Linked DNA regions of Homo sapiens: region 1 is linked to region 2. The links are contacts of gene promoters, found by promoter capture Hi-C in human tissues and cell types (Jung and others, 2019). All regions are on one chromosome and are shown on one strand. The core of a region is centred on a gene start or on the middle of the fragment in contact, and the rest is flanking DNA. Distances in the headings are between cores, read along the strand shown. Region 1 holds the start of TMED3 (transmembrane p24 trafficking protein 3). Region 2 holds the start of ARNT2 (aryl hydrocarbon receptor nuclear translocator 2).

What was found. The method cuts DNA at HindIII sites, captures the fragments that hold promoters and counts their contacts. A contact is called where the count stands out against the background at its distance.
Region 1: a contact is called between a fragment that was not itself captured here and the fragment with the promoter of ARNT2 in region 2, in 1 of the 25 tissues and cell types used here (mesenchymal stem cells).

What each region holds. Positions count from the first base shown.
Region 1 is chr15:79,305,292-79,311,405 of GRCh38, reverse strand. TMED3 (transmembrane p24 trafficking protein 3) reads right to left here and starts at 294. Exons shown (of 3, transcript NM_007364.4): 1 at 1-294. The coding sequence starts at 156. RefSeq lists silencers at 121-190, 401-450. The HindIII fragment of the contact is 4,061 bases long and covers 1,899-5,959 here.
Region 2 is chr15:80,401,032-80,406,428 of GRCh38, reverse strand. It overlaps ARNT2 (aryl hydrocarbon receptor nuclear translocator 2), which reads right to left and starts at 2,047. Exons shown (of 19, transcript NM_014862.4): 1 at 1,883-2,047. The coding sequence starts at 1,913. It overlaps ARNT2-DT (ARNT2 divergent transcript), which reads left to right and starts at 2,233. Exons shown (of 6, transcript NR_184070.1): 1 at 2,233-2,438; 2 at 2,844-2,927. RefSeq lists an enhancer at 2,116-2,616. The HindIII fragment of the contact is 10,967 bases long and covers 1-5,296 here.

The DNA.
Region 1 (6,114 bases), core at 2,680-5,179, 1.1 Mb after region 2:
GGAGAACTTCACGCCCTGCTCCACCTCCTCGTGGAAGCACTGCTTGGCGTTGTCCGGCAGCTCGAAGGTGAGCTCGGCCCCGCAGGGCTGCTCGGCCCGGCGCAGGAGCAGCAGCAGAAGCAGCACGGAGGCGGAGCGCGGGACAGTGCTGCCCATGATGCTCTCGGTCCCGTCTCGAGGGCCGCGGCTCGGGCGCTGCGCCCCCGGCGGGCTGGGGCGACGACTACCGACCGGGTCCTAGGAGGATGTAAGGGGATAGACGTGGCACCAGCGGAGCTCTGCGCTTCCGGGAGGGCCGGCGGCTCAGTGCGCAGCCGCGCGCTCAAAGTGGGCCCGGGCACCTTCCGCCCGCTGCGCGTGCGCGCTGGCCGCGCTGCGCCAGGGGACACGCCCCCCCCACCCCCCCGCAACGCCTCTCCCGGCTCGGAGGGTGGGTCTCCGCGGAGGGGAGGTGGGGCTCCACCTAGCGCGCCCCTACCCAGAAGAGGGAGAAGCCCTCCCCGCTGTTCTGCGCGCTCCCGGACCCGCAGGGCTGAGCATCCCCCCAGGTCGACCCAGGTCCACCCTCCAGCTGCTGCAGCACGAAGCACGTGGGATTTTACTCCCTCTATAAGGCTCCGCTTTTGACAGGCTCTGTAACTTCAGTCTCACACTTCCCTCGAGAACCAGTCTCCTTGTCTTGAAATGGGTGTGCCCAAACCTAACATCCACAGTAGTTAGGGAGCTAGGTGAAAGATAAGGGAACGCTGGGAACCCGATTAACACTCCTTTCTTCATTCCCATACCCTTCCCAAGGTGAAAGAGTGTGCGAAGGGGGTGGGGAGTGGGGAGAGTAAGTAAAGACCCATCATTACACCTGCTCTGGGAAAAACACGAGCGTGCTCACACACAAACGATCTCATGAAAATCCAAGTAAAGTCTCGCAGCGACTTCAGGTATATTTTGGCTGTCAGGCTCGTTGAAAATTCTTTTTGCACAAAACTGTCATTTTTGCACTTTGACTTCTTAAAAGCTCTGAAAGCAGATAAATTGGTTTACTGTCTTACCCATGACCACTGACTTAAGATTCTTTTGTATAATCGTAACTATAGGTATAGTTTTATATTCACTGTGATCCAATAAACAAAGAGAAAAGACGTAGATTGTGATGTCGATACTCAATAAATAACTTATTCAGGAGAGCATTACTAGACGTGGTATATCTTGACTTCAGGAAAGAATGTTACTGCCCATATAGATTTCCGCTGGCCACATTCACTATGGATGAACACGCTAATGTGTGAAAGCAATCTGTAGGCTTGGAAATAACATGCATGCATAACATAGTTAATAATATTGACTGGCTCAGTGACAGGCATGGAAGAGGTGTTTAGTAGTGTCCCTTAAGCTTCCTTCCCTGGCACGGTCCTATTTCACGTTTTTTTTTTTTTTAGGAACTGATAGAAAACATGGAAGTAATAATCATCTGATCTAGATGAACTAAGTGGAGAAATAAATGACAGATATAAAACCACAATTGGCCGGGAGTGGTGGCTCACGCCTGTAATCCCAGCACTTTGGGAGGCTGAGGCGGGTGGATCACGAGGTCAAGAGATCGAGATCATCCTGGCCAATGTGGTGAAACCCCTTCTCGACTAAAAATACAAAAATTAGCTGGGGGTGGTGGTGCGTGCCTGTAGTCCCAGCTACTCGGGAGGCTGAGGCAGGGAGGCAGGGGTATTGCTTGAACCTGGGAGGTGGAGTTTGCAACCTGGCGACAGAGCAAGACTGCGTCTCAAAAAAACAAAACAAACAAACAAAAAAAAAACACGATTGCCCTGGCACAGGTGGAGTGCTCTGCTAAGACTAACAAAAAGAAATTTCGGGCTGGGCACCATAGCTCATGCCTGTATCCCAGTATTTGGGGAGGCTGAGGCAGGAGGATTGTTTGAAGCCAGGAGTTCGAATCTAGCCTGGGCAACATAGTGAAACCTCGTTTCTACAAAAACAAACAAACAAAAATTAACCAGGCATGGTGGTGTGGGTCTGTAGTCCCAGCTACTTGGGATGCTGAGGTGGGAGGATTGCTTGACACCAGGTGTCTGAGGCTACAGTGAACTGTGATTGCACTACTGCACTCCAGCATGGATGACAAAGGGAGACCCCATCTCTAAAAATCAAAATAAATTCCTCCGGATTAAATGTTAAGTCTTACATTTAAGTTCCAAGAAAACACCTGCATAAGTTCAGGGGAGGAGCTGACATTGAAGAAGCTCTAGTCAGAGCATGCAGGCTGTTGGCTGGGACACCTCGGTTCTCCTCCAAGCATCCTCTTACATCTAATAGGCTAGATTACTTCCTTATATGGCAGGTTCAGGGCAGCATCCCAAGAGGAACTAGGCAGAAGGAGCAAGGCCCCTGAGACCTAAGCTTCAGACCTTTTCCAGTATGACTTTCTCCACATTCTGTTGACCAAAGCAAGTTCAAAGGCCAGCCCAGATTCAAGGAGGTGGAAAAATGGAATCTACCTCTGGATTTGAGGAGTTGCAAAGTCACATTGCAAAGGAGGGTCATACTGGGATGGAAGGAATTATGGCTGTTAAGCCATCTTCTATAGTATCCAGACTCACTCAGCTTGTCAATGGCTAAGCCAGAAAGTGAACCCAGATCTGCTTAATTCTGAAGACTACCAGCTTCCCACTAAACACACTGCCTCTACCCATACCTCAGGGAACACTTGTCCTACATGTTCCATAGGGCAAACCTTGGACCAAAGCATGAATCTGACACTGAGGCACATTTCAGCTCACACAATAAATGATTTTCTGGAACCAGAGATTTCCAAAAATAGAATGGACAAGGATAGTACATTTTTCATACCCGAAAATATTCGAACAGATGCAGGTGAACAACCAACCACTTAGCAACAACAGAGATGATTCATGAGCCTGGGTGACAGATAATAGTGGTGTATGACCTCTACGGTTCCTTCCAACCTTGATATTGCATGATATATGGCAAATATTGCGTGATATATGGTACTAAAGGTAGGATAACTTGAAAGAAAAACCAAAAATGTTTTCTATCCACTTTAGTCCTGGGGTGACTTCTGTAAAGTCCTTTTAAAACAGTAAATAAAAGAAACACACACATAAAAATAGTAAATAATAAATATTAAAACAGTAAATAAAAATGAGGATCTTAACAGATGCAGGAAAAAAAGCATGTGACAAATTCAACATCCATTCATGATAAAAACTCTTAGCAAAACAGAAATAATAGACAACTTCCTTAATGTCATAAAATGTAACAAATTTAGAGCAGACATCATGATTAATGATAAACATGTCTTTTCCTTCAAATTTGGGAATAAGACATAAATGCCTGCTATCACAACTGCTATTTAACATTGTCCCAGAAATTCTAGCAGGAAAGGTTAGGCAAGAAAAAGAAATAAAAGGACAAGAATTGGATATATAAACATCCAAATAGTGCTTATATCTAAGGGGAAGGAAAATGCAGAAGTCCAGAAGGGGCACCCAAGAGAGACTCATGAATGTTCACATTCTGACTTTCATTAACTGAACACTTAGGTTTTACTTCTCTAAGTATGTACAGATGCTCCTCGGCTTACAATGGGGTTATGTCTGAATAAACCTATCATGAATTGAAAACATCGTAAGTTACGTGTGTTATGATGAGATGGGCAGTATAAGGTGGACCCATCTGTGCCCTAAAGCAGAACTTTATCATTGCTTCATGCAACAGGAGCACTCCCTAGCATGCTATTAGTATGTTGAAACAAAATCAAAGTTTATCCATGCCTCATGCAGGTAATTGATGGTGAAGGAAAAAAGCAACACAATCGCTGTGTGGATTGACTAAAGCAAATGGAAACTTTGCAAACCGCTTAACGTTGCCATGGAGCTATAACCAATACCAGCTTTTCCCTGAACAAACCAGTCAGAGACAGGTGACACACACTGCCCTCCTGAGACTCACAAACTTCCCCAGAACAACTGTTTCTGTGGCTGTCAAGCATTTAACTATCCTTCCTATGGGTAAATCCCAAACTAGGTGAGAAACCAGCCTCCCTCTCATCACAGAGCAAAAGAGGGGCAGATAGTCCCTCTCCCTCTGCTCCCGGGTCCCAAGGTATGTGGGCATGGGATCCAGGCTCTGCCAACTGGGTGCCCTTGTATCTGACTCGGGGGGGCGGGTGTCTAGAGAGGTAGAAGCAGAGAGTATAATGGTGGTTACCAGGGGCTAGGGGGTGGGGGGCTTGGGGAAATGGCCAATGATTACAAAATTTCAGTTAGATAAGAGGAATAAATTCAAGAGATCTATTGTACAACATGGCATCTATGGTTAATAATGTAGTCTATACTTGAAAATCACTGAGAGTACCTTTTAAGTGTTCTTGCCACAAAAAAAATGATATATGCAGTAATATATATGTTAATTACCTCAATGTAGCCTTTCTACAATGTATGCATATTTTAAAACATTATGTTGTATACTTCAAATATACATAATTTTTATGTGAATTAAACAAACAAATTTAAATTTGAAAAAGAAGAAGAATGCTTCAATCTTTAAGCTTTGGACAGGAAAATATTGTGACTAAATGACTACAGAATGATCTTTAAAAATTGAAAAGCTTTTTGCAATTCACACATTATGTTGGATTCATGGAAATGACTCATATTCTCCCTTGAGTGTGAGGTAAAGAAACATTAATATCTTAAATATAGGAAGAGAATAATCCATGTGCCCACTCACCATGCATGAATTATATTTTCCTAGTGCTAAAAATTCAAACTTCTTCTTACCCCATTGGGTCTTTGTTTCTATATAAATAAGTATAATTTATTCTGCTTTTAAAAAGAGAAAAAGAAAAAAACATCATATAACTTATTATCTTTGCTGTAACATGGTGGAATGGAAAGATAATGAAATTCAAGACCCAAAACCCTGGCATTAATGTTTTGACATTCTGTCCTTGTCTGGGAGTCCACGTCTGAAACTTTAAAATAGAGGTTGAGGTTGGGGATTGGGTGAGTTGATGCCAAAGGTTTTCTTCTTCCAATTATCAAGACTTTTAATAATTTCAAACAGTGAGCTTGGGCTTCTTTTCTTCAATTTAAAAGAAAAACATAAAGAAAATAAGAAAAATTAAGGGAGGAAGGGAAGAAGGGAGGGAGAAAGAATGGAAGGGAGGAAGGGAAGGCAAGGAAAGGAAGAGTAGCCTCATACAGTCTATGTATTAGTGAGGATAAGATATTCTGCAGTAAAAATCAACCCCCAGATTAAAGAGAGAGCTGTTTTCCTTTCTCTTTCTTTCTTTTTCTTTTCCCTATTAAACCTCCACTCCTAAACTCCTAAACTCCTAAAAAAAAAAAAATCAACCCCCAAATATCAGGACTCAGCAAAAGTTTATTTCTTATCCCTTCTATGTTTTTCACAGGTTCAAAGGCAGAGATCTCTTCCATGTAGTCCTTCAGGGAACCTGACTGACAGAGATCCCCATAATCTTGAAATTGTTTCACCTGAAACACACTTCTCCTCCGCCACAGCAACAGGGGAAGAGAATGTGAGAAGATCTCTTATCAGCAATTACATGCATCAGCTTAGAAGAGACACACACATTGCTTTCACTCGTAACCTATCATCTTGAATTGATCTCATGGCCCTACTAAATCCCAAGGTGAATGAGATTTGTCTTCCATGTGTCCAGAAGGAGAGGAAAACTGAATGGTGGTGAATACTGGTTCTGTTTGCCACATCACGGTAAAACGAGTAATAATAAAGACATAAAAAAGACTTGCAGTTTCTGGTAAAGACAAGTTAGATTATTTGAACATAAATTTCCCCTAAAAACAACTAAAAATACAACTTTAAAAATGTTTTCTGGGAGGCATCAAAAAGCTGGCAAGAGAGTAAAGAATTACCCCGCCAAAATTGAAGGGAAAACAATAATCTAGAAAGAGAAGCATTCTCAAAAGTTACTTTTCCCATGAGGGCATTGGCCAATCCTGAACATTTTTGAATTTTCATTTTTTACAGTCTCACAGGGAGAGTGGACAAAAACCAGAGCCTTAAGGAAGTTGAGGGCTCATCATTTCACTTTCCTGC
Region 2 (5,397 bases), core at 798-3,297:
ACATTTACATCTATCAATTTTCCATTGATTTTGAAGTAGTTGAATGGGTTGAAATTGCAGCTTCAGTCACAGGCAAACTGGCACAGATTTGTTTTCAGACCAGCCACGTTCCTCCTCAGTGTTCTGGACAGAGGCCTCCTTGTCTGTTCTTCCAAGAGTCCCTATTTCTGCTGATGGAACTGCCTTCCTTGGAATTACACAGGCTCTTCACCTTGGTGTCTCCATGGACACCTCCCCTTTGTCTCTCCTTGGCCTCCTCCTTTACTCTTACTCCAAATCTAATCAGTGCCAAATCTGGAACTCTTCTACCCGCCCAGTGGTGCATTCCTTCCTCTCTGGTCCAGCCATGGCCACCAATTCTGGCCTCCCCAGCACCTGCCTCATTTCATGCTGGCCTCCCTGTCTCAAGTCTTGTTCCCTCCTTAGAATGTTTCCTAGACATAGCTGACAAATCAGTCTTCCAGAAAAAGTGATCATGCGATTTCCTTGTTCAATACCATTGAGGTCTCTCTCTCTCTCTCTCTGTCTCTCTCTCTCTTTTCTATTTTATTTTATTTTTCTGGTTCTTAGGAAGTGTGCAGAGGACTCTCCCTTAATGTGGAGAGAGAAAGTCCATACTCCTCAGTCTGTCCTTTAAAGCCTGGTCACATCCAAACAACTCAGTGTTAAATCCCACTGCTGCCTCTTATATCCCCAGTGCACCAACTACTCACTGACCTCTGCACTTGCTTAGAGCAAGTCCACTGTTACTTACGCCTGCAATGCCCCTCTGCTACTGGCTCTGTATATTCAAACATTCCCGTTTTCAAGGTTCAGCCGAAATGTCCAATCTCCAGAAGCCTTCCCTGGCCGCCTTAGATGAAAGGGATCTTTCATTCCTAATTCTATGATGAGAGACACTTTTCTTTGCTAGGCATTGCTGTTCCTCCCCCGACCCTCCCTATCTCCAACACATGACCTCCCTCTGCTGGGAATTTCCTGGGGGCCGCCCTCTGTGACTCTCCCTGCATCTTCCACAGGGACCCAGCAACCTGCCGTGCCCACAGCAGCCTCTGCACAACACCCAAAAGTTTGTACTAGCTTAGATGTTCACGTTTCTCTTCTCCCACACCCTGCTCATCAGGTAGGGAACTTTCCCAGTGAAAACGGAACTTCCCTACTACAATACCAAAACAAGTCAATGTTGCCACTTGATCAAGAACTCTTCCATTTTTGAAATATTTCCTAATGAGCTCAGTTGTCACAGACTGCACCCTGGGGACAGGTCAGACCAGAAAGCAGAGGATGTCACCTGGGCAGGACCAGGGCTGCTCCACGCTGGTGACCACAGGCTGGGTGTTTTGTGCCCCCGGAGGGTTAGGACACACAGCAGCCAGTCGCAAAGGGCGCAAAGGACCAGCGCTTAGTGGGCGGGGCGGGCAGGGGAGAGTCCCGGGAGTTGTACCCTGTTGAATCCCAGCTCCAAACTTTTCCCTCCGTCAGCGCGGAGCCCTCCACCAGCCAGGACTGGCTGACGCCGTGATGCCACAAAAGCCGGGACCGGAAGAGAAAAATGCGTGGGATGGGGAAGGCAAAGGCGGTTATTTTCAGAACTTCGGGGGCTCCCGGGCCTGCCCTTCGGGTTCCCGAGGATGCGAGGCCAGCGTCCGGCCGCCCGCGGGTCCGGACCGGCGCCTGCCCGGGACCGGATGGGCAGCGATTGGGATGCAGATGCCGCTCTGGTGCTGATGCTGCGGCTGCCGCGTAGTGACAGCCGCTCCACCACCCACCGCGCCGAGCTGCGGCTCCGCGCCCCCGGGGGCGCCCGGCGCGCCTGGTCCGCTCCGGCCCCGGGCAAGGCCTGCGGGCTGCGGCGGGCGGCGGGGCCCAGGCCGCTACTCACCCGGAGGGTTGACCGCCGCCGGGGTTGCCATCTTGCTCGGAGAGGATAGGCGCCCGCTTGGCAGGGGCGCGGGAGGGGCGGCGCGGAGCCCGGCGCTCAGCCCCGGGGACCCGGTCAGGCCCAGGCGCCGCCGCCGCCACACAAAGGACGGCGCGGGCGGGCGGCGCTCCCTCCGCTCTCCCCGCCGCCGCGGCCGCTCGCCGTCCCCGCCTTTCTCTCCTCCTCCTCCCCCTCCTCGGCCTCCTCCTCCCGGTTCAGCCTTTGTCGCGCGGCGGGGGGCGCCCGGCCCGCGGCTCCCCGGTCAGAGCGGTAGCACCGCGAGACTTGGGGCTGCGGACGGCGGGACCCCCAAGTTGGGCGCCGGCGACTGGCGGGGGCAGAGGGCCGGGCGCTCCCTCGGGCTCGCGCAGGTGCTCGGGCCTGGCCGGGCTGGGACCGCAGGCGCCTCTCCCGCGCTCGCCTAGCCCGGGCTGCCCCCGCACGCCCACGCCCCAGGTGTCCGGGCGCGCTTTACCCAGGGGCGCCGTGCCCAGGCCAGGAGGCCAGGGCGGAGCGGGTGAGGGAGAAGCCCATTTAGATTCAGAGGGAAGCCGGTCCTGGGAGACGGCCGCGAGGAACAAAGGCGCCCCAGTGCTGCCCACTTAGCATGCCAGAGCCGCGCTGCTCGGCTCCCAGGCCGGGGACACGGCCCGGTGTTAAGCGGAGGGTGCCCGACCGCGGGAATTCCTAAGGCCACGCGCACCTCCAAGGCCACCGCCGCACACAGCTTCGGAGTGCACAGTGCACACGCCCAGGCACAGGCAGCCGGCCCGAGAAATTGTGAATGTCTTGGCTTTGAGTAAGGCGCTCATCTCTACCCTCCTTCCATAATGACTGCCGTTGATTATTACTTGAGGGCGCTGCAAGGGCCTTATTTACACCACCAAGTTGAGAATTTAAAAAGATTTTTTTTTTTAAATAGGTTTATCTGCGTATCCTGGCGAAGTTTGGATGCAGAGAACTTGGAGCTGTTGTTTTCTACCAGACACTAGGATCCCTGAGAGAGGTAATGGCCCCTAGGAAGGACACGTCACCATCGGGGTCCCCTGTAAAGGTTAAATGGAAGAATAAAGACATCCCAGGTGAACGCTGAGAAGGGCAAGTTGGTCCCTAAACGCAGATAATGTTTGCAGAGACATCAAACTGTCTTAAATCCTTCCAAGGAAGCATTTTCTGGAGGGCAGAAAATTTGGGATGTATGTTCAAATAAGCATTTTCTTCGGGGAGTATTTGTCACTACTAATCTAATAGTCTATCAGTTCTACAAATGTTGAATGTCTGCTGTGTGCCAGGCACAAAGCCAGGTGTTGGGCCTACCATGGAAAGGAAGAAACAGGAGCTCTGTTCTTCTGGTTTGGGGGGTAGAGTGGGGAAGAGTGAAACAAAGTATCTGCACTCAAGAAGCACACAGCTCCCTTGGGGGCTTAGGGCAGAAGCCCTGAAATTGGCATCTCCAGCCTGTAGTCACTAATGAATGAATGAGGGCAGAGAGGAGGTGGAGTGATCAGGGAAAATGAAAATTAGGCTTTGAAGACATGAGTAGGACAGGTGGAAAAAGAAGACATTTCAAGTAAAAAATAAAGCAGGTGTGCACCCAGCCACAAGATAGGCCAGGCCCAGACAGAGAAACCAGGGTATCAGCTATGGCCCGCTCTTGTGCCCCGTATCAAAGTTGACTGTTCCTGATTCCAACATCAAGCCAAATGAGAATTCAGCCTCTCTTCTACATACCCCGAAAAGCAACACACTCAAAATACCAACTTAATTAATGTATAACGTATACTGGACTGAAGATTTCTTAAGGAAAGTAAAAGAGGAGGCTCTCTTCACTCACTCCACATCAAAAAAGGTAAAACTCCATCTCAGATATTTCTGCTACCCAGAGTCCCTTCTGGATCCTTCTCCCCACAGGCAGTTCAATCTCTGGTGGCCCATAAATAGCCCATAAATAGCACTTGGCATCACTGCCCCCTATCCCACGAGGCTCTTTTATTCTCCAACTTTCCACACCCCTTAGAAGGAAGCAAGTTCCTCTCCTTGGTGTTTATGTATCAGTTTAGCATTTCAGCCAGGACCCATGGCTCATTTTGTCTCCAAATACAGTTCTAATATCATCCCTAAAAAATAAAATATGAGTGAACATGACTCTTACGCACACACACATTTAACCATACAAATTTGTTGACAAGTTTTACTTTCTTACTCTGCTGTTGTGTTCTGCCCATTTTTCTAAATGTTACTCGGCTGATATCTTTAAAACTGGATCTTGCTCAAGCTTCCTACTTCTTGCACTGGTCCATTGCAATAAAAGACAGGCGACACGTGGACAACTGCTAGACACTTCCCAAGTCTGGAGTCGGCCGTGCTGTGGTTTTTGGTACGTAATAAATACGTTTAGATTTTCACAAAGGAGACATTTCATCTTCTCCCCCAGTCAGTGTATTTCAGAGGTAGAAAGGACCTTCGACATCATCCAATTCTGCCCCTGGAGTTTGCAGATAAGGAAACTGAGGCTCAGGGTAGCCAACGTCATGCAGCTTAATAGCCAGACAAGACTTAGAACTGGGCTACGCACAATACTGGGATTTGGTGGCTGGAGTTGGGGAGCGGTTAGGGTGTAGGGGAAGAAATAGAGAAATGGGCAACTCGCCTTCTCTCTCGTCTCTCAGTATTAAATAGGTTAAATGCTCAGAAACACTGATTGTGGATGAAAGCCCCCCACTTAAGTAAACAATCTGAAATGGAGTGGTTAGTCATTGTTGAATACTGAGTGGCATTTACACAACACAGTGGTCTTGCGCTAATTATGAGAGTCAGTAGACTGTGACCAGTTAACACAGGCTCAGGAATTCCACTCAACCTTTAAACAACCCAGAACTCTTTGAAATTCCAGAGGAGGCTGTTGAATTTGAAGCTGAGATTTGCATTTTTGAAAAGATTAATGCAGATCCACCGGGCCCATAGCACACGATTCTGAGCACAGCGCTCCTAGAAATGACCAGAGTTGACCAGCTGCTGTGCTAATGTGTACCAGGGTCCACAGCCTTTCTTTCTTTCTTCTTTTTTTTTTTTTTTAACTTGATGGGAGAAAGCAGCCACCTGAGTTCTGCTTCATATCCCTTTAAGTCCTAATACTCGAGACAAAGGATTTCCATTGTATAATATATAATGATCCAAGGCAATTTTATCTTTTTTTTTTTTTTGAGACGGAGTTTCACTCTTGTTGCCCAGGCTGGAGTGCAATGGTGCAATCCTGGCTCCCCACAACCTCTGCCTCCCAGGTTCAAGCAATTCTCCTTCCTCAGCCTCCTGAGTAGCTGGATTACAGACATGCACCACCATATCCAGCTAATTTTGTATTTTTAGTAGAGACGGGGTTTCTCCATGTTGGTCAGGCTGGTCTCAAACTCCTGACCTCAGGTGATCCATCTGCCTTGGCCTCCCAAAGTGCTGGGATTACAGGCGTGAGCCACTGC